4 separate regions of the Homo sapiens genome follow, and regions 2, 3 and 4 are each linked to region 1. The links are contacts of gene promoters, found by promoter capture Hi-C in human tissues and cell types (Jung and others, 2019). All regions are on one chromosome and are shown on one strand. Each heading gives the region's core, a stretch centred on a gene start or on the middle of the fragment in contact. The rest is flanking DNA. Distances are from core to core; before and after follow the strand shown. Region 1 holds the start of SLC5A10 (solute carrier family 5 member 10). Region 2 has its middle 4.1 kb from the start of TBC1D28. Region 3 overlaps EPN2 (epsin 2). Region 4 overlaps LOC107985051 (a long non-coding RNA gene).

What was found. Contacts are between HindIII fragments. The study calls those that stand out against the background at their distance.
Region 2: a contact is called between a fragment that was not itself captured here and the fragment with the promoter of SLC5A10 in region 1, in 4 of the 25 tissues and cell types used here (adrenal gland, dorsolateral prefrontal cortex, spleen and 1 more).
Region 3: a contact is called between a fragment that was not itself captured here and the fragment with the promoter of SLC5A10 in region 1, in 1 of the 25 tissues and cell types used here (mesenchymal stem cells).
Region 4: a contact is called between a fragment that was not itself captured here and the fragment with the promoter of SLC5A10 in region 1, in 5 of the 25 tissues and cell types used here (H1 embryonic stem cells, aorta, dorsolateral prefrontal cortex and 2 more).

Annotation. Positions count from the first base shown.
Region 1 is chr17:18,950,437-18,955,114 of GRCh38, forward strand. It overlaps SLC5A10 (solute carrier family 5 member 10), which reads left to right and starts at 1,729. Exons shown (of 15, transcript NM_001042450.4): 1 at 1,729-1,880. The coding sequence starts at 1,770. The HindIII fragment of the contact is 13,514 bases long and covers 1-4,678 here.
Region 2 is chr17:18,645,744-18,651,303 of GRCh38, forward strand. It overlaps the pseudogene PAIP1P2. Among named protein-coding and RNA genes, the nearest start is that of TBC1D28, 4.1 kb to the left of the region's middle. RefSeq lists an enhancer at 4,541-5,041. The HindIII fragment of the contact is 6,520 bases long and covers 1,027-5,560 here.
Region 3 is chr17:19,258,962-19,264,789 of GRCh38, forward strand. The region is part of intron 1 of EPN2 (epsin 2); the gene reads left to right. Among named protein-coding and RNA genes, the nearest start is that of EPN2-IT1, 9.5 kb to the right of the region's middle. The HindIII fragment of the contact is 7,234 bases long and covers 957-5,828 here.
Region 4 is chr17:18,610,955-18,616,635 of GRCh38, forward strand. It overlaps LOC107985051 (a long non-coding RNA gene), which reads left to right. Exons shown (of 3, transcript XR_001752812.2): 3 at 687-4,946. It also overlaps the pseudogene CCDC144BP. Among named protein-coding and RNA genes, the nearest start is that of TBC1D28, 31 kb to the right of the region's middle. The HindIII fragment of the contact is 7,367 bases long and covers 1-5,681 here.

The DNA.
Region 1 (4,678 bases), core at 479-2,978:
AATGCTGCTGGTACAACTACTCTATTAATGGGATAGTTTTGGTAAGTCTGGATCCTCCCAGCTGGGTCCTCCTGATCAGTGCAAAGCAGCCTTTTGTTTTAAAACACATTGCAAGCAATGGCTTGGGAAGTAAACACCATCTGAGGCTCGCTGGCCAGAGGCAAGGGGAGACGGCAGGCAGTTGAGCCTGCCTGAGGGTTCTCTCAGCAGTGACTTCCTTTTTCCCTTCCTTCTTCTGCCTAGTCCTGTATGTGAGGACTATTAATTGTTTTTTGTTGTTGTTGTTGTTTGTTTTGTGAGATGGAGTCTCCCTCTGTTGCCCAGGCTGGACTGCAATGGCGCAGTCTTGGCTCACTGCAATCTCTACCTCCTGAGTTCAAGCAATTCTCCTGCCTCAGCCTCCCAAGTAGCTGGGATTACAGGTGCGTACCACCATGTCTGGCTAATTTTTGTATTTTTAGTAGAGACGAGGTTTTGCCATGTTGGCCAGGCTGGTCTCAAACTCCTGATCTCAGGTGATCCACCCGCCTTGGCCTCCCAAAGGCATGAGCCTCCCAAGGGCATGAGCCACTGCTCCTGGCCGAGGGGATTAATTTTTACCCGCACCTCAGGGTTATTGAGTAACAGGCTGGCTGGGTTTGCAGGCCAGCGTGTTCCTGGTGGCAGCCGCTCACTCATTAACACTTCTGGAAGTGCTGCATGTCTGGTTAAACTGCAAATGCTTTGCAAAGTCACGAGTCATGTCACTGAGCAGAGGCGTGAGACTGCCGGCCAGCCCTGCTGTGTACACTGATAGAATTAGTGAGCGAGCGTCCCACTCTGATGGAATCCAGATGGAACTCGTCACTGTCACTGCGGTGGAGACGGTGGGGCCACATCTGCACTGAATCCTACTCTGCGCCTTCAATGGCTGCGTAATGGCGGATGGCCATTTCCTTGACTAGGATGAGACATTGCCTACTCTGCGTGGCTGCTGTGAGCGTGAAATGGGATCATGTGCGGAACAGCCACGCATGGTCCGTGAAATGGGATCATGTGCAGAACAGCCACGCATGGTCCTTGGTGTGTGACAGATATTGGGTCCCTCTGTGGTCCCAGGCAGACATTGCCCGGGGTGGGGGCCGAATGCATGGTCAAGTTGAGGGGCCTGGGACTGTTTCACGGGTCTAGAAAAAGAAAGCAGAAACGCTGGAAGCAGGACTTTATTGTCCGACATGGGGCTGCCTCTGAGCCTGGGCTGTGTTGGCTGGACGTGAGCCATAATGCAGGTGTCCCCCTCCCAAGCCCTGCTCAGTCCACTCACAGCCCGATGGCCAAGGGAGGACATGGCTGCCCGCCACGGCAGTATCTTCAGAGGTGAGGCGGTTGTCCCTACGCTCTATGCTTCTTATACAAATTAGATATAGGTGAAGCCACCCATTAAGCAACCCAGCCTTTCTGGGACTATTTGGGCTGCCTCCGGGTCCACTAAATGCGGTTCATTTTCCCCAAGCCCCCTCCGAGTTCAAGGAGGCTCCTTCCTTTCCTCCTCCCACTTGCTTCTCCCAGGCTCCCTGACTCCTGCGCTCTGGGATCTGCACCCCACCATGGGGTGAGGAAGCTGAACTGCATGGTGAGGCAGCTGCCCTGCATGCAGCCACATCATGGGCTGGAGATGCCACTGTCCGCTTGGTTTAATGATCAATGAGCTCCCTGCCAGGAAACCCTTTCTGACCTGGTTTGCCCCTCAGTCCCTCGGGCTCATACCTAGTGCCTGCGGCAGGACAGCCATGGCCGCCAACTCCACCAGCGACCTCCACACTCCCGGGACGCAGCTGAGCGTGGCTGACATCATCGTCATCACTGTGTATTTTGCTCTGAATGTGGCCGTGGGCATATGGGTAAGGGGACCTGTGGTGGTGTTGGCCAAGTGGGCTCTCAGGGTTGGTGCTTGGGGTGGGAACCGGGGTCCAGCATGTCCCTGTGGTGTCAGCATTGGTCCCAGCTGGTGGCCTAGTGATCCTTGTGGTCCTCCTCCCAGCCTGGGGTAGACTTGCTTGGAGACCTTGACCAAGCCCGTTTCTCTCTTTGGGTAATGGCGTCTCCATCTGCAAAGTGAGGAGGAGGAAATTCTCTCTAACAGGTAACTGGGCTTTTGTGCTGCTGCCCAGCTGGAGTCCTTGGGTGTGGCCCATCAGCCTCCTGGTCCCAGTCTCCATGGTGTCAGTGACTCCTGTCTGCTTGAACAACAGGCTCCCCGGGATTCCCTGGCTGCACCCCAGAGCTGCTGGATCAGAATCCGGAGGCAGGGAGGGCCCTGGGAACTGGGGGTCTTTATTTTGAACAAGCTCCCTGGGGATTTATGTCCTGTGGCCTAGCCCTAGATCATAAGCCGGTTCTTTCTCCCTTCATAACAGTGAGAAATGAGCAGAGATCTGACCCCACACACAGATTCCAGGGGCAGCGGGGCCCCTGGGGACAGGCTGTTTCATGTGCAGATGGAGAAACCGAGGCTCTGGCCCTGCAGCAAGGGAAGGGCTCCTCTGGTCTATCGTGGAGGCCTTCCTGAGGGAAGGTGGACACAGCCTGGTTCAGGTCACCTGCTCCACGCTTAGCGCCTGGGGATGTTGGGCTCCACTTCTTAAGCCCCAGAGGTCCCCAGCCTGGCATCCCTGAGCCCTGACAGTCTCCTGGGGAGAATGAGTACCCCTTCTTTTTTTTTTTTTTTTTTTTTAACTGAGACGGAGTCTAGCACTGTCACCTGGGCTGGAGTGCAGTGGCACTATCTCGGCTCACTGCAACCTCCACCTCCTGGGTTCAAACAATTCTGCCTCAGCCTCCTGAGTAGCTGGGATTACAGGCGTCCACTACCACACCCAGGTAATGTTTTGTATTTTTAGTAGAGACAGAGTTTTACCGTGTTGGCCAGGCTAGTCTCGAACTCCTGACCTCATGATTTGCCCGCCTCGGCCTCCCAAAGTGCTAGAATTACAGGCGTGAGCCACCGCGCCCGGCCGAGTACCCGTTCTTATCTTCCATAACCCCTGGCCTAAGCACGAAGGCCTGGCAAACAGGAGACTGGTCACGTCCCCTCAGCTTCCTGGGCCTCAGTGTTCTGATCTGTTATATGGAGACACCACCTACCTGGGGTGAGGTCTGCTATCAAGGGGCCCACACAGGACCAGACCTTGCTGCTGCCATTGGTTCTACAGTGGTAGCAGTGGTGGTGGTGGTGGCAGTTGTAGCAGTGGTGATTATAAGAGTAGCAGCCGCAGTCATTAAAATTAATTATCACAGGTTGGATTTCAAAAATCTGAAACCCAAAATCTGGAACATTTTGAACACCAACATGATGCTCAAAGCAAATGCTCATTGGAGCATCTCAGATTTTAGAGTTTTGGGTTGGGGATGTTCAACTGGCAGGTATTCTGTAAGTATCTCCAAATCTGAAAGAGTCCGAAATCCAAAACTTTTCTGGTTTCAAATATTTCGGATAACGGCTCCTCAACCTGTATGTGATTAAATATTAACTCACAAGTAGCCCAGTGCTGGCCATCGGCAAAGCCGAGTTCAAGTCTCGGCTCTGCTCTGTGTACTTAAGTCACTTAATCTCTGTGGGCTTCAGTTTCCTCAAACACGCAATGCGGGTTTCTGTGCAGCCCACATCTCAGGGCTGTTCCAAGGAGCAAGGGTCCAATGGAAGTGAAAATCTGTTGCAAACTGTAACGTGCTATATTCCTGTGACAGTTGGTGGCTAGAATTCAGAGGAGGAGGTGCCCACGTGGGGCAGAACAGACAGTGGAGGGTTTCTGGATGAGGGGAGGTAAGGGCCAGGCAAGATCTGAAGAGGGAAAGAGGAGGGGAGACAAGGCTGTCCTGGCTAGCACGTCTAAGAAAGATGTTCTGGGCACCTGAGGCCAGACCCTTTGTAGCCCAGTGACTTGGGCCACCAGCCCTTGTTGCCCATGACCCACCTCTCCTAGTGAGTCAGCTTGCTGTTTGCAGGCTGGTGCCCCTGGAAGTAGGGCTGTAGGAGTTCTGCCCTGTCCCTCCTAGCAGGCTAGGCTGGCCCAGCTGGGAGCGGCTGGCAAGAGAGCAGTGAGCACATCCAGAAAAGATCAGAACCAGACAGGGAGGATGCTGGAGATGCATCCCACAGGGAGAAGCAGACAGAGCAAGCCAGGCAGGTGCAGCCCTGCAAAGATGTTTAGATGGTGGGCCTGGGAGAGTCTGGCGGGGGCCGGGGGGAGGCCTTTAAGGAAGAGATGTTCCTGGAGGAGGGGACTTTGAGCTGAGCCTTTGCATTCATTAAAGTATCTGTTAACAAGTGACTGAAAACTGCTTTCAAATGAGCTCTAAGAATATAGGAAATGTAGGCCGGGCGCAGTGGCTCATGCCTGTAATCCCAGCACTTTGGGAGGCCTAGGCGGGTGGATCACGAGGTCAGGAGTTTGAGACCAGCCTGGCCAGCATGGTGAAAGCCCGTCTCTACTTTTGTATTATTTTGTGATAATACAAAAATTAGCCAGGCGTGGTGCCAGGCGCCTGTAATCCCAGCTACTCAGGAGGCTGAGGCAGGAGAATTGCTTGAAACCGGAAGGCGGAGGTCGCAATGAGCTGAGATCACGCCACTGCACTCCAGCATGGGCAAAAGAGTGAAACACTGTATCAAAAAAAAAAAAAAAAAAAAAAAAAGAAT
Region 2 (5,560 bases), core at 3,037-5,536, 300 kb before region 1:
AGGGCCCCGAGGATGGCATCACACAGTGCAATACCCAATGGCAGGGGCGGTGCTCCATCCCTGCAGACGTCATCGAGGGCACACCTGGGGTCGTCTAGGGTCATGGACCTGGCCACAGAGCAGAAACTGGGTCAACAGGAGTGCACACACGCACACAGGTGCACACTCACACACTGGAATAAAACGAATTTCGTAGCAAGTGGTCACGTGCGCGTGGGAGCGCGCGCGCACACACACACACACACACACACACACACACACCACTTGTTGCTGATCTGCTGACTTATCTCACTGCCATGAAACAGCAGCTAAGCCTGTAATTGCTCTGCCTTTCCTTGGATTTTTCCTTTAGTTTCTCTGACTGCTGGGTTACTGGCCTGTGTTTAGCTTCATGAACATGGGTTTCACTTTATTTTTATGGGGTTCCAGCTCTTGCTCATGGAATCCCTCCCTGCCTGTTCTGCAGTCTTCCCTTGTTTACTGCCTGTGGACTTCAAGTATCAGACACAGAGAAAGATTTGTAGATACTGTTTACTCAGCCCCCACAATTTCCATAGCAGGTCTCTTAATTCCCATCACCTCCAGGGAGGGTCATTGCTGGGATCCTAGGAATCAAGTGCCTTGTCTTGATGGCCACAGTGGTAACCATAATAGTCAGGTTTTCCCTCTGTGCAATTCTGGAACATAAAAATCTTCTCTGGTAACAAGACTACAGAAAGCAATGAAAGCAACACTAAACTGGGAGTTTGCTGGCCTGTGTTTCTAAGAAATTTAATGTTTTTACATAAACAATGAAGAAGAAATGACTTTTCTAAAGTTCCTGTCATTTATGCCATGGATTGGACTCTTCTGTGAAAGCAGTTTCATTGATGGATGTGGATAATTAGCTTAACTTCAAGTAAAAGATTAGAGAGCAAATTGTAAACATAACTGTGCTTTTTTACACTCAAATGACATTAATCAGACAGTTTTGGATCTCTAGAAATATATATTAGAACATGTAAGTTCTATATTGAAATGCGCAAGTTTGGAATCCTTCAGGTGACTTATTTTTCATCAACTAGAAATAATATTAAAATTGCAAAGATTTATTATGTTTTATATTATTTGTCCTAATGGAAAAAGGAATTCAAATATGTTTATTAAAGTATAATATACACAGGAATCCTATTATTCTACTACTCAGTGATTTATCACAAAGAGGACACATGCTTGGAGCTACCACACAGTCCAAGAAAATGAAATAAAAATAACAATCTGGAAATCCCTCTCCTGAAGGTCTGCTCCCTAACCACTGCCCACCTGTCTTGTCAAAGCAAAGAGTCACCTGGTTTTTAGCAGCCCCAATTAGTGTTGTCTGTTTCATAAATGGATGCATGGAGGGCCATTCAGTAGGAATGGTTTTGTGTGTGGCTTCTTTGGCCCAGCATTACATTTGTGACACTCCTTCAAGTGGTTTCATGAAGCAGTTCTTTTTTTTTTTTTTTTTTCGAGATGGAGTTTCGCTCTGTCGGCCAGGCTGGAGTGCAGTGATGCGATCTCGGCTCACTGCAAGCTCTGCCTCCCAGGTTCACACCATTCTCCTGCCTCAGCCTCCCGAGTAGCTGGGACTTACAGGCGCTTGCCACCATGCCCAGCTAATTTTTTTGTATTTGTAGCAGAGATGAGGTTTCACTGTGTTAGCCAGGATGGTCTCAATCTCCTGACCTAGTGATCCGTCCCCCTCAGCCTCCCAAAGTGCTGGGATTACAGGCGTGAGCCACCGTGCCCGGCCCAAGCAGTTCATTTCTTTTCCCTGCTCAGTGGTGCTCTGCATGAATATGGCACATCTACCAATTCTACTGTTGATGGACATTGGTTTGTTTCTAATTTGGGACTACAAGCAATAAAGCCACTATGAACATTCTTGTTAATTTCTTTTGGTACACATGTATAGATATTTTAGTTAAGTACAGCCCTACAAATAAAATAGCTTGGTCATGGTAACTGCATATGTTCAAATGCAACGCATGTCACTAAAAATGTCAGCTAGGAGGAAAAGCTCAAGAGCTCTATTGTACAACATGTTGACTACAGTTAATAACAATGTGGTAATACTTGAAATTGTTGAGACAGCAGATTTTAAATGTTCTCACCACAAAAAAAAAAAGATAAGTATCTGAGGTAACTGATATGCTAGGTAGCTTGATTTAGCCATTCTACAATGTCTGTCTGTTGCTATACATATATATACACAGATTTAGCTATTCTACAATGTGTGTGTGTGTGTATGTAAAATGTGGTATAGCACAAATACATACAATTTATCAATTAAATTTTAATTCCAAAGATTTTTTTGACTAATATATAACCCAACCACAAGTTTGAGAGTTCTAATTAGATGTCCTTTCCAACACCTGATTTTGTCAGTCTTCCTTTTATATATTCTGGTTAGTGGATAATGTTATTTCGTTTTCATTTATTTTGGTCTTCTGATTATTAAAAGGCCTGATACCACTTTCATAAATGTTTATTGAAAATGTATATAATCAGGCTGGGCACGGTGGCTCATGCTTGTAATCCCAGTACTTTGGGAGGCCGAGGTGGGCGGATCTCTTGAGGTCCGGAGTTCGAGACCAGCCTGGCTAACATGATGAAACCCCGTCTCTACTAAAAATACAAAAAAAAATTAGCTCGCCATGGTGGCAGGCGCCTGTAATCCCAGCTACTCGGGAGGTTGAGGTGGGAGAATTGCTGGAAACCGGGAGGCAGATGTTGCAGTGAGCCAAGAACGTGCCACTGCACTCAAGCGCGGGGGACAAGAGCGAAACTCGCGTGGTGGTGCGTACGCCTGTAATCCCAGCTACTCAGGAGGCTGAGGCAGGAGAATCGCTTGAACCCGGGAGGCAGAGGTTGCAGTGAGCCGAGATTGCACCATTGCACTCCAGCCTGTGCTTCAAGAGCAAAACTCCGTCTCAAAAAAACAACAAAAAAAGAAAATGTATATAATCATATTTTCAGGGGTCTATGCAATTTTTTATACTTTTTCCAATGTGGTTATCAATCTTTCTAAATGATCTTCGAGAAGTTTTTAAAAATAAATTCTTGACATAAATTTTTGGGATTTTGTCAGTTAAAGGTGGAAATATCTTCTCTTTAAGAAAGAGCTTGGCTGGGCGTGGTGGCTCACGCCTGTAATCCCAGCATTTTGGGAGGCCGAGGCGGGCTGATCACGAGGTCAGATGGAGACCATCGTGGCTAACAAGGTGAAACTCCATCTCTACTAAAAACTACAAAAAAAATTAGCCGGGCGTGGTGGCGGGCGCCTGTAGACCCAGCTACAGGCTGAGACAGGAGGCAGGAGAGGAGGCTGAGACAGGAGAATGACGTGAGCCCGGGAGGCGGAGCTTGCAGTGAGCGGAGATCGCACTCCAGCCTGGGCGACAGAGCCAGACTCAGTCTCAAAAAAAAAAAAAAAAAAGAAAGAAAGAAAGAAAAGGAAAAAACAAAGAGCTTATTAGGCCGGGCACGGTGGCTCACGCCTGTAATCCTAGCACTGTGGGAGGCCGAGGCCGGCGGATCACGAGGGCAGGAGATTGAGACCATCCTGGCTAACATGGTGAAACCCTGTCTCTACTAAAAATACAAAAAATCAGCCGGGCGTGGTGGCGGGCGCCTGTAATCGCAGCTACTAGGGAGGCTGAGGCAGGAGAATCGCTTGAACCCAGGAGTTGGAGGTTGCAGTGAGCCGAGATGGCGCCACTGCACTCCAGCCTGGACTACAGAGCAAGACTCCGTCTCAAAAAAAAAAATAAAATAAATAAAATAAAATAAAAAGAGCTTATTAATGGATAATCATTGGAGATGTTAAGTTTTAGGTAAGATAGAAAAAAGGGTCTTTTAACATAGTTGTATTATATATATTTTTGCCTTGTATTTTCATGTTACAGAATGGGTCTAACTTTGGGTCAATATATGTGTTCACTTAATTTTTTTCTAAATTTGGAAGTAACCTGAAATTTACACAAAGACTACAATAGAATTACAAAGGATAGCCAGGTTCCTCTTAGACTGACACACAGTTAACGTTTAATCCTGCTTGTTTTATCATTTGCTCTTTCTATATACAAATTTTTCTTGAATCATTTCAATTTCATACATTACTCTTCTTTACCTCTAAATACTTCCAATATGCATTTCTCAATAATGAGGATATTATTAATACTTTACACAACCATGATACAGTTATCAACTGCAGTAAATTTAACATCAATACATTACTTTTATCTATTCTACTGCTTGTATTCCAGTTTTGAAAAATTGAACCAACAATGTCTTTAGGAGATTTTCTCTCACACAAGACCTAGTCAAAGATCCTGTATTGTATTTAGTTGTCATGATGCTTTAGTCTCTTTTAATTTGGAAGTTATTCAGCTTTTCCTTGTCTTATGTGACATTAATATTTTTGAAGGCCCGAACGGAGCGGGGCCTGCTGAGCGGGCGCGGCACCAGCCGCCGCAACCCAAAGCCCCGGGCTTCCTGCAGCCACCGCCGCTGCGCCAGCCCAGGACGACCCCGCCGCCAGGGGCCCAGTGCGAGGTCCCCGCCAGCCCCCAGCGGCCTTCCCCGCCCGGGGCGCTCCCAGAGCAAACGAGGTCCCTGAGAGCTCCACCTAGTTCACAGGATAAAATCCCACAGCAGAACTCGGAGTCAGCAATGGCTAAGCCCCAGGTGGTTGTAGCTCCTGTATTAAGGTCTAAGCTGTCTGTGAATGCCCCTGAATTTTACCCTTCAGGTTATTCCTCCAGTTACACAGAATCCTATGAGGTTGGTTGTGAGGATTATCCTACTCCATCAGAATATGTTCAGGATTTTTTGAATCATCTTACAGAGCAGCCTGGCAGTTTTGAAACTGAAATTGAACAGTTTGCAGAGACCCTGAATGGTTGCGTTACAACAGATGATGCTTTGCAAGAACTTGCGGAACTCATCTATCAACAGGCCACGTCTATCCCAAATTTCTCTTATATGGGAGCTCGCCTGTGTAATTACCTGTCCCATCATCTGACAATTAGCCCACAGAGTGGCAACTTCCGCCAATTGCTACTTCAAAGATGTCGGACTGAATATGAAGTTAAAGATCAAGCTGCAAAAGGGGATGAAGTTACTCGAAAACGATTTCATGCATTTGTATTCTTTCTGGGAGAACTTTATCTTAACCTGGAGATCAAGGGAACAAATGGACAGGTTACAAGAGCAGATATTCTTCAGGTTGGTCTTCGAGAATTGCTGAATGCCCTGTTTTCTAATCCTATGGATGACAATTTAATTTGTGCAGTAAAATTGTTAAAATTGACAGGATCAGTTTTGGAAGATGCTTGGAAGGAAAAAGGAAAGATGGATATGGAAGAAATTATTCAGAGAATTGAAAACGTTGTCCTAGATGCAAACTGCAGTAGAGATGTAAAACAGATGCTCTTGAAGCTTGTAGAACTCCGGTCAAGTAACTGGGGTAGAGTCCATGCAACTTCAACATATAGAGAAGCAACACCAGAAAATGATCCTAACTACTTTATGAATG
Region 3 (5,828 bases), core at 3,324-5,823, 310 kb after region 1:
AACTGGTGGATATTTAAGAAATCCATTTGATAGAATTAAAAGGCTACTGTGAAGGAATCTTTTTTCCATTTGGAAGAAAAAATCAGTTTATAATTTGGAATGGGGAAACAAATATTATCTGCCTTCAAAGAAAAAAATTCATTATATAACATAGCGGCTGCTGAATCAAGTCTTGGAAATTTGTGATTTTTTGAAAACCGCCCTATAAGGCTTATGGAAATACAATTTGGAATCCATTAGCTTCAGGTGTTTCTCCTTTTGGTGATAGGGAAACATGGTTTTGCTGCTGTTTTTGTCAAATGTGAGAGTCGTAGGTTATTGATCTGGCATCTTTTGAGTGTTGGGTCTTTTTTTTTTTTTTTTTTTTTTGAGATGGAGTCTCATTCTGTCACCCAGGCTGGAGTGCAGTGGCACGATCTCGGCTCACTGCAAGCTCCACCTCCCGGGTTCACACCATTTTCCTGCCTCAGCCTCCTGAGTAGCTGGCACTACAGGCGCCTGCCACCACGCCTGGCTAACTTTTTGTATTTTTAGTAGAGACGGGGTTTCACCGTGTTAGCCAGGATGGTCTCAATCTCCTGACCTTGTGATCTGCCCGCCTCGGCCTCCCAAAGTGCTGGGTTTACAGGCATGAGCCACAGCGCCCGGCTGAGTATTGGGTCTTTAGGGGTCAAAACTTTTGATCTTTGCTTGCAGTTTTTGTTTTTTTCTCTTTTACACTCTCCCTGTTCCCTGATTAAATGAAGGCCAGGCTTGCCTAGTTCCAGGGAAAAGGCCAAGGGTGCCTAGAGCAAGGTGGATGGGACTTTGTTCGCAGATGGGCCTTGAGAGAGCGACCCCTCGCTCCTAAATGCCCGGAGGAAGGGACGGACTTCTTTATCTTTACCATGGGTATTCTGCCTTACTGCTTTGGCCTGTGGCGTTTCTTCACTTGCTTTTCCTCATTTTGCTTGGAATGTGCTTTGCCTGTTGCATACCCACCTCGTCTGCCCCCTTGCACACTCCATGGCTGGCCTAAAAGCCCAGTCTGCTGTCCTGTGCCCTTTAGACTTCCACTGTAGGATTATGTTTCCACACTCCCTGTGGACTGTGCCACTGGAGCTCTCTGCAGACAGGGACTGTGTCAGGTTGACCTCCATCCTTCAGCACCAGCCCAGTGCCTGGCAGGTAGCAGGAAAGCAGAAGCTGAGGAAGGACTTGCTGCACAAGTGGATGCCAGGAGCTCTGGTTCTTCCCTTCTTGAATCTGCTACCTTATGATGGGAGGGACACAGGGCTGTGCTGGATTTGTGCACGATGCTTTGGACAGCCCATGGGAGAGGGCCAGGAGGAAGGAAACCCAGACTGAGTGGATAGCAGGCTGGATGGGGGCATTGACAGTGGGGGAAGCATTAAAGGCCATTTATAGCCTTCCAAATGTGAAGCTGGAGGGGCCTGGAAGAGAGTCACAGAAAGGAAGGGACAGACGCGGGACGGTGCAGGGTCCCTGCCCTCCAGCTTCACAGGTCTTGGTAATGGGCTCTTACACGGGTTGGTGGCGGAAGGACACAGGTGGACCTGGGCTGGTGGTCACTCCTGGGCTGCTCTTGGCCCTGGCATCTGAGACCTGTTGGCCAAAGGCTTTGATGTGGCTCTGGTATTTTTTCTTTTTTTTGAGAATGGAACTTTTTTTTTTTTTAATGAAATGCTCTTTTGAATAGGCAATACAGTCACGTTTCTAAAATGAAAATATATTAAAATATATTTTAAGAAATTTTGCCCCTCACTCCTGATCTCATCTCTGTCCTCCCTCCTCCCTGGTAACCACCTGTAGCAGTTTGAATACCCTTCTAGTTTTTCTTAATGCAAGTACAGCAAACACAAATTGTGTATTATTATTTCTCCCTTTTCAGTAAATGAAAGATAGCATTCTGTGTGTACTGTTCTTCATCTTGTGCTTTTTTTAACTTATTGTAGAGATTTTTCCATATCAGTGCATGGAGAATGGTTGTCATTCTCTTTCAGCTGTGTTGCACTGTGAAGTTGTCCCTGTTTGAATACTCACCCCTGAGGAAAGGCACCTGGCTGTTTCCAGCTTGTTTCATGACATGCCGGCGACAGTTGTCTCACGTGCACATCGTTTCCCACATTGCAGTGGTCCTGCAGGGTGGCATCCCGCAGGCACATTGCTGAGTCAAAGAGGAAACACAGTTGTAATTTTGACAGATTTTGCCCAGTTGCCCTCTACAGGGCTTGTTCCATGTTGCACTCCCACTGGCGGTGTTGATGCCTGATTCCCCACTGACTCGTCAACACAAGGTGTAGTCAAATGCTTGGAGTTCTGCCAGCCTGACACTTGTAAATAATATCTCAGTATAGTTTTAATTTGTATTTTTCTGAAGAGGAGCTGATCATGTTGTCATATGTTTAAGGACCATTTATAGTTTTCTGTGGACAGTTCTTCGATTTTTCTCTTGGGTTATTGGTTTTTTCTCAATTTCTGAAGGTGTTTTTTATATTTTTGGAAGGTTAGTTCATTGTCTTATGAGTTATAAATTTTTTTCAGGCTAGGAATTATTCTGATCTAGGCAGAGTCTTTAAATAATTCTATTCCTCCCCTTCCCTCTGCCCCATCTCCTTATGTTTGAAGATTTGGACAGTGGCTTTGGGACAGAACCACACCTTTGGCTTCCTTCCAGGATTTAAGTTAATTGGCCTTAGACACATTTTCGGTATGAACTTATGATAGCGTGGATGTGTTTGAGGTGTATCAGGATGGGCTACATGATGTGAGAACAGCCAACCCTCTCACCTCAGTGGCCTAACAGCAGAGGCTCATTTCTTTTTCATGGGGCATGTCCAGTGTATGTAGTCAGGAGACTTCACTCATAGTCACTCATGAACCTAGGATGATGGTGGCACAAGCTTTTTGTTTTGTCTTATTTTGTTTTGTTAACAGTTTTATTGGCTGGGAGTGGTGGCTCACACCTGTAATCCCAGGACTTTGGGAGGCCAAGGTGGGTGTATCACTTGAGGTCAGGAGTTCGAGACCAGCCTGGCCAACGTGGTGAAACCCATCTCTACTAAAAATACAAAAATCAGCCAGGCATGGTGGCGCATCCCTGTAGTCCCAGCTACTTGGGAGGCTGAGGCAGGAGAATTGCTTGAACCCAGGAGGCAGAGGTTGCAATGAGCTGAGATTGTGCCACTGCACTCCAGCCTGAGCAACAGAGCAAGACTCCATCTAAAAAAAAACAGGCCAGGTGCAGTGGCTCATGCCTGCAATCCCAGCACTTTGGGAGGCCAAGGCGGGCGGACCACCTGAGGTCGGGAGTTCAAGACCAGCCTGACCAACATGGAGAAACCCTGTCTCTACTAAAAATACAAAATTAGCTGGGTGTAGTGGCACATGCCTGTAATCCCAGCTACTTAGGAGGCTGAGGCAGGAGAATCGCTTGGACCCAGGAGGCGGAGGTTGCCGTGAGCCGAGATCACACCACTGCACTCCAGCCTGGGCAACAGGAGCGTTAAAACTCCATCTCAAAAACAAAACAAAACAAAACAAAAACAGTTTTATTGATGCATAATTTATTTGCCATGCAATAAAGTTCACCATCAGCATAATCTTATTTTAGAACATTTTATTACCCCCAAAAGCAACCCTGTACCCATTAAGCAGTCATTTCCCCTCCCATTCTCTCCAGCCCCTGGCAACTGCAATAAAGTTCACCATCAGCATAATCTTATTTTAGAACATTTTATTACCCCCAAAAGCAACCCTGTACCCATTAAGCAGTCATTTCCCCTCCCATTCTCTCCAGCCCCTGGCAACTATCAGTCTGCTTTCTGTCTCTGTGGATTTGCCTGTTCTGGACATTCCACATAAATGGAGTCATACAGTGTGTGGGCTTTTGTGTTTGGCTTCTTACATTCAGTGTAATGTTGTCGAGGTTCATCCATATGGTAGAATGGGCCAGAACTTCCTTTTTAAGGCTGAATAATATTCCATTGTGTGGATAGATCACATGTTGTTGATCTGTTCATCAATTGGACAAAGTTGTTTCCAGTCTTTGGCAGTCGTGAGTAACACAGCTGTGAACATGGTACATGAGTCCCTGTGTAGACATGCTTTCCTGTCTCTGGATAGATAAGGAGGCTCCATCCTGACATAGGCACCCACTGTCACCACCGCAGGGAATGTGGCACCTGCCTTTTACTGTTCAGCAGAGAGTGACACACATCATTTCTATCTCATCTCATTGCCGTGCCATGGCTGACTTCAGAGGAGGTGGGAAAATGCACTTCTGTCATAGGCCTAGAAGTGGGTGAACTGGAAATACTTGGTGACTAGGATCAGTACTTTAGAAGAGAAGAGAAGTGGGGCCCATCCCTGGGGCCCATGAGAGTGGTTTTGTTTGGACAAGTCATTCCGGAAAGCGTTCACTAGTAAGGAGGGAGTTCCAGGATAGAAATTACGTGGGTTGGCCTTGAAAGCTGGTTGGTGGAAAAACCTCACATCTTCCAAGGAGCGTCTTAGATGGGTATGATGATATTGGAACAGAGAAGGGCAACCACATAGAAGTAATATAAGTAGAATGGAGGTTTAGGATTGAGCACTTCTGAGTTTCACAGGAGGCATTGTGGCTGAGAGCTTCATCCCAGTTCTGTGATTTGCTGTATGTTATCCTCTCTCTTGTGTAATGCCTGCCTTGCAAAAGTGCAGCAAGATCAGTGCCATGAAACCCCTGGGTCAGTGCCTGGCACATGGTAGGCATTCAGTAAATTATAGCTGTCACCTTGGTGCATTTGACCAGCAGCAGCTGAGTCTGCAGTCACTGAGTCACCAGACCTGGCCTTCCTGAGGCCTTGGGCTTATGTTTTCCTTGTGAGGCATAAATATGCTGAAGAACATCCCTGTTTTCTTGGCCTGGTCCTCCCTGTGGTGGCTGAAGGAAAGAGGGGGGCTGGAGCGAGAAGGGGGGTTAGGGGCATGGATGTAGCCAGTGTATATTTGGAGGGCAAGTAAACAGTTCTTCCTTGGCCTCTCGGCACAAGTTTCTAAAGTAGAGCGATTTCTGAGTTTAGGAGCAGCTGGGCAGATCTGCACACGCACCCAGTTGTCAGTGCTGGAAACGCGCCCCTTTATTATTATTTTTCTAAACAAAGCAGGACAATGGCAGTGTAAACATTGTTTGAACAAAAAGCATTTGGCCAATGGAGATAAAACCAAAAGGAAAATAACAACTTTGATTTCCTTTTGGTTTTGTGTTTTGACATTTGGTAGCATACTTCTAATCTTTTAGGAATTATAAAAATTATATGGTTTGCGAACTCCAGTTTGTTTATGCTGTTAAATTTAGTGCGAAGTAAACTAAAAAATTCCCCTCCTGTTGGGATGTCAGCTTGCTCCCATTTTTGTTTTTCTTTGAGAGGCATGGTCAAAGGACCAGTGGGACCTGAAGAGGGCCCGTCAAAAGCATGTGAGGCATGTGGGGAAACCTGTAGTGAAGCAGAAAGTGCAGCCTTATTTCCTACAGCTCTCTCATGTTCCTTATCTTGCTGATTCTCGCTGGCTGCCATTTCCATTTTACAAATGAGGAAACTAAACTGAGATTCAGTGAGGTGACTAAAAGGTGCTGGGTAGAGCAGTGATCTTTTCATTCTGCCAGGTAGTTATTTTAAAACTTACCAATATTCATAGGCCATGTTTTATGTTCAGTGAGGGCATTTGTGGTTTGGTAAGGGTGTAGAGAGGATCAGAGAGCTTGGAGGAAGGGAGAGAGAAAGGGGGGAGTGTGTGAGCAGGTGGGGCTGGACTCGGTGCCCTGTAGAGTCATTCATTCTTGCAGC
Region 4 (5,681 bases), core at 840-3,339, 340 kb before region 1:
TGTTGGGATTTAAATTTTTTTTTTTTTTTTTTGAGACGGAGTCTCGCTCTGTCACCCAGGCTGGAGTGCAATGGCGCAATCTCGGCTCACTGCAAGCTCCGCCTCCCGGGTTCACGCCATTCTCCTGCCTCAGCCTCCTGAGTAGCTGGGGCTACAGGCGCCTGCCACTACGCCCGGCTATTTTTTTTTTTATTTTTAGTAGAGACGGGGTTTCACCGCGTTAGCCAGGATGGTCTCGATCTCCTGACCTCATGATCCGCCTGCCTTGGCCTCCCAAAGTGCTGGGATTACAGGCGTGAGCCACCGTGCCCGGCCTGAGATTTAAATTTTTTAAGACAAGTGAAAGAAAAAAGCCAAAAACACATAAGTGAAACTTTAAAGTCCATTTCTTCATAAAGGGTGCATTTATCCACAACCACATATGTGGTTTAAAATGTTGACTCTCAATTATGATCTGAGAATCCCTGGAGTTCAAGATCCAGATGAGGGGCCAAGACGTCAAATAATACAAAATGTTATTTGCCATTTTCACTCTCATTCTGTTTCACGTGTACAGTGGAGCTTTTCATAGACATGGTGTGTCATAACATCATAGCTCTAATGGTGAATGGGTCATAGTTCTAAAGGCTTTGGAATGTATGGCTGAGCGTGCTTGTTTTTTTTTGTTCGTTTGTTTGTTTTTTCAGATGGAGTCTCACTCTGTCACCCAGCCTGGAGTGCAGTGGCGCGATCTCGGCTCACTGCAAGCTCCGCCTGCCAGGTTCACACCATTCTCTGCCTCAGCCTCCCGAGTAGCTGGGACTACCGGCGCCCTCCACCACGCCCGGCTAATTTTTTGTATTTTTAGTAGAGACGGGGTTTCACCGTGTTAGCCAGGATGGTCTCGATCTCCTGACCTCGTGATCCGCCCGCCTCGGCCTCCCAAAGTGCTGGCATTACAGGCGTTAGCCACCACGCCTGGCCGCATGCTTGTTTTTAAAATATTTTAGTTTTTATTTCTAAAATAGTAAATATCAAAAGACACAACCGACTTAAATAAAAGCTCTTTGGAATTTGCAATAATTTTTCTTTATTTTAATTATTTATTTATCATTATGAAGAGAGTTTGAGATCCAGTCATTTGATAGAAAACCAGAGCTTCCTGTGTCAATAAGGACTGACCTCAAAAATGTAATGTGACCAGACAAAAGAAAGTTGCAAAATATGTAGAGTGTAAAACAATTTATATACAATTTTAGGACATGAAAACAAATTCTACATATTATTTATGACCATACACATATGTAATAAAATGTTTTAAAAGGGAATGGACATAATAAATTCTTAATTCAGGGTGTTGGTTACCTCTAGGCAATAATATTTAATCATATAAAACGAACCCCAGGCCAAAAAGTTTCAGAATCAATGTTTTAAAAGACTGTGTCCACCATGTAGTTATTAAGGGTAATTAATTGCTTTCTTCGTTTTTGATAATCAAAACACACACACATGATTTGCTGACCAGAATATCTGACTGGCTTAAAATCATCAGTATAGCCACACTATGATGAAATAATTAAACTTAAAGCACAACTAACATATTGGCAAGTAAAGTTTGTCTTATCTGATAAGTTTTGGTGCTGCACGTTCACCTTATATTCTTTCCACCTTTCTAATACCCCACTCTTCTTTTGAAGTATTATCTCATTTTACCACCCTCCATCATATCCACTTGCTTCTTTTCCCTTCATTTACTCTCTGTACTCTCTGCCTTCCACATTCTTTATTCCCCCTTTTACTCTTATCCTCTTCCTTCTATCCTGACATTGCATATCTAGGGTTCAGTAGTATCCACTGTTCCAGGCATTCACTGGGGGTCTTGGAACATAACCCCCATGGATAAGGGGGGAAAACTGTACATTTTATTGTGTAGGTCTATGGGTGCTGTGCTGTGTTCTGTGGCAAAACATAGGGAAGAGACCAGGGATAAGGATCTTTGCAAAGACTTTTCAGCTGCCAGTGGAGAAGAGCTCAAGGGAGATCAATGTACTCACTCTCACTAATCCTCTTCTGGGGCAGATGCTGGCAATGTTTACTGAGTTCTAGCTATTTTCCCTAGCACAAACAAGGCTCAAATTCACCTCCCATTTTACCTCCTATGGACAGAACCACTGGAAAGATCACTCCCTTAAAGAGCTTATTCACTCTGAGCCACACCATTCATTCAGTGAGAAGCTTAAGAAGAAACACTGCCACAGTGGTGGCAGGTTGCCAGGGAGTACTACCTGGTATGAAAAATATATATAAACAGAACTATCAGCTCACTCAAGCTGCCAGAATGTGCCAACAGTTGTTACTCTCTCTGGTGAAAACAACATTATTTTTCATTTATTGTAAAGAAAAACACTGGCATTTCCTATGACAGAGCATTTAGTTGTAGATGAGCCATATTCTAATAATATAGACTGTTTTCAAGCTCATCCCTAAAAGGAAGAGAACCAGAGAGGAACATATTTATTCACCTGTAGTGTTCACTGCCTGATCTTCTTTTTAAGTGCAAGGTAAGTATGCAAGACTTTGTGATTCCAGTTTTATAAAGTCCAGCTCTTGAGATTATCCCGTCCCATCGCTAGACTCTATCTGGACCCATCTCCTAGAGCACGATGGTCCAGTTAGTGCTGTGGAATACTGCATGATGCCATTTTTCCCCACCCTCCCCGTTACGTGGCAAACATCTACAGAAATCACGCTTTCTCAGCACGTCAAATCATACGCCATCAGATCCTGTTCTGATGAACACAACATGAGGAAAACAAACACAAGGACAAAGAACATCTAAAATGACAGAATCAAATTACCATGGAACTTTATTGTTTAAATATTCAAAAAGATATCCACCACTGTTTTATTCCAACTATATGACTAGTCTGGAAAAAGCAAAACTACTGAGACACCAAAAAGACCAATGGTTGCCAGAAACCAGTGGAGAGGAAGAGACGAAACAGTGGAGGACAGAGGATATTTAGGGCAGTGAAACTATTTTGTCTGTGATACTACAAGGGTATATACATGCCATCACACATTTGTCCAACACCATAGAATGTACAAAACCAAGAGTGAACCCTAACGTAGACTGTGGACCTTGGGGGTGATGTGTCTGTCAAGGTAGATTCCTCAACTGTAACTCTGATGAACTCTGATGGGGGGTACTGATAATGAGGGAGGCTATTCATATGTCAGGGGTCATGGGGAATATGGAAAATCTCTGTACCTTCTCAATTTTGCTGTGAATCTAGAACTGCTCAGAAAATAATATTATTAATTCTAAAGCACATACTCACTGAACTTGCTATTACCCTAAATTATAAAAAGACAGAGTCACCTTGAAAATTGCAAATCACTAAAGATCAAGGTAACAGAATACGAGTACTATCTCCGAAATTGAAGCATATAAAAACACATAAAGCAATTAATTTTAATTGTATACTTAGGCAAAAAAAAATTCACAAAAATGATTGAATATCTGATCTTATTTCATAATTGTAAACAGGGATTTAGTACAATATGAATCAAAACTGGTCCATCCATGAAAATAAAATGAAAGACAATTTTTATTCTAATTTTAAATCAGAACTTATTATGCCTACTTTATCCCACAATTTTACTGAAAGGTTAATCAGATAAGAAGGACAGATTATAATTACTTAATATTGCCATAGTAACTTATGTACCAATACCTGTTAAGTATTCACCAAATGTCAAAACTGTAAGCAGCCTTGCTATTTAATATGAATGATGCAGCTGAAACCAGTACCATGTTATGGTCTATCATATTATTTGCTATTGTATTATATAAAATGTTAAGATAACACCAAAAATTTACTCAGGGGCATAGCTGCTGGGCAGCAAAGATTTCATATAGCAGGCATGAGACACCCATCCTTAGAAAGGCTTGCTTGCAAGGCTAGTCCTTGGCTGGTGTTTGGGACCTTGAATTTGGGAGGGTTCCCAGCATTCCCTAACTTAGAAGAAGGGAGTGGCTCACTGTGCCTAAAGTGTTTGTGCAAATGTGGTTTACTATGAACAATTAATTTCCTCCTGGGAGTCTAGAGTTTTGTTACATGTGAGGGAGAGGAGAGGTGGCCTATGTGACTAGCCTCCATCGAAAACATGGGTGCTGAGCCTCTAATGAAACTCTGGTAAGGTAGACAACATTGCACATGTGTCGTCAAAATTTGAGGCTGGGGGAATTAAGCATATCCTGCTAGCTACACAGGAGATGACTCCTGTAGCTTGTGCCTGGCTTCCTCCAGACTTTGACACATGCACCTTTTCCTTTCTCAAATGTTGCTTTGTGTCTTTTTGCTGTATTAAATGTAATAAATCAAAGCCCCAAGTATGACTATCTGCTGAGTCCTGTGAGTCCTTCTCAGTGAATTACCAAACCTCAGTGAAGGGGGTCTTGGGAACCCCTGATACAATTGCATTAAACAATTTTTTATTGTTTAAGTTGATGTGTTACATGTGACTACAATCAGAAGGTAATTTCACAGAATACCTTTCCCTAATCTGCTTATTTTTTATTTTTTGACATTTGCCTTGGAGATTCCTGTACTTCTATATCCACTGGACTAAAGGCATTAAAAATGCATGAAACAATGATGTCAGAAAGTAATTTTTAAAAGCAACAATCCTATTTTAACTCAATTAAAAATAGAAAATCTTAATGACTGACAATATATTCTACAGTATAAAAGTTTCTGGAACAAAAAATTATAAGATCACAGTCAATTTTCTCCCACTAGGTAGGATTTAATTCATTTTTATAATAATTGTGCAGCAGGCCAGGTGCAGTAGCACACATCTGTTGTTCCACCTACTCAGGAGGCTGAGGCAGAACGATTGCTTGAGGCTAGGAACTAAAGCTGCAGTGTGCTATAATCACACCCGTTCAAAAAAAAAGTCCAGGCCGGGCGCGGCGGCTCACGCCTGTAATCCCAGCACTCTGGGAGGCCGAGGCGGGTGGATCACGAGGTCAGGAGATCGAGACCATCCTGGCTAACACGGTGAAACCCCGTCCCTACTAAAAATACAAAAATTTAGCCGGGCGCGGTGGCGGGCGCCTGTAGTCCCAGCTACTCAGGAGGCTGAGGCAGGAGAATGGCGTGAACCCGGGAGGCGGAGCTTGCAGTGAGCCGAGATAGCGCCACTGCAGTCCCGCCTGGGTGGAAGAGCCAGACTCCGTCTCAACAACAACAACAAAAAAAGTCCAAAAAAGCCCTGCAAATAGTGGAACTGATCAGTAAGGATCAACAGGACTTTTAACTTATCTGGCCGGGAGAAGAGACATCTTATGTATAGATGGTTAAAAGTGTGGTAATCCAATTGACCACATATTCTAGTTAAATCACAGATTACCAATTTCTGAAGAAATGTAATACCACAAAAGCACTTCACATTTAAACTATGTCAGATAAAACAATTTGTATTTGACAACCCAGAAGACACTTAAAATCTTGGCAGACCATCATTGTGTCATTGTGGTGCAGATATAAAGAAGTGCATTTGAAATGTGTTCTAATAGTATTTTCTTTAGGAATGGAATTCAAAAGGAAGCAGTAAGAGCAGAAATATCACAAGAGGGTAAATGAAAAGGGAACTGCACTAACAAAAGGAGTCAGGCACTGACTTTTCTCCTGATG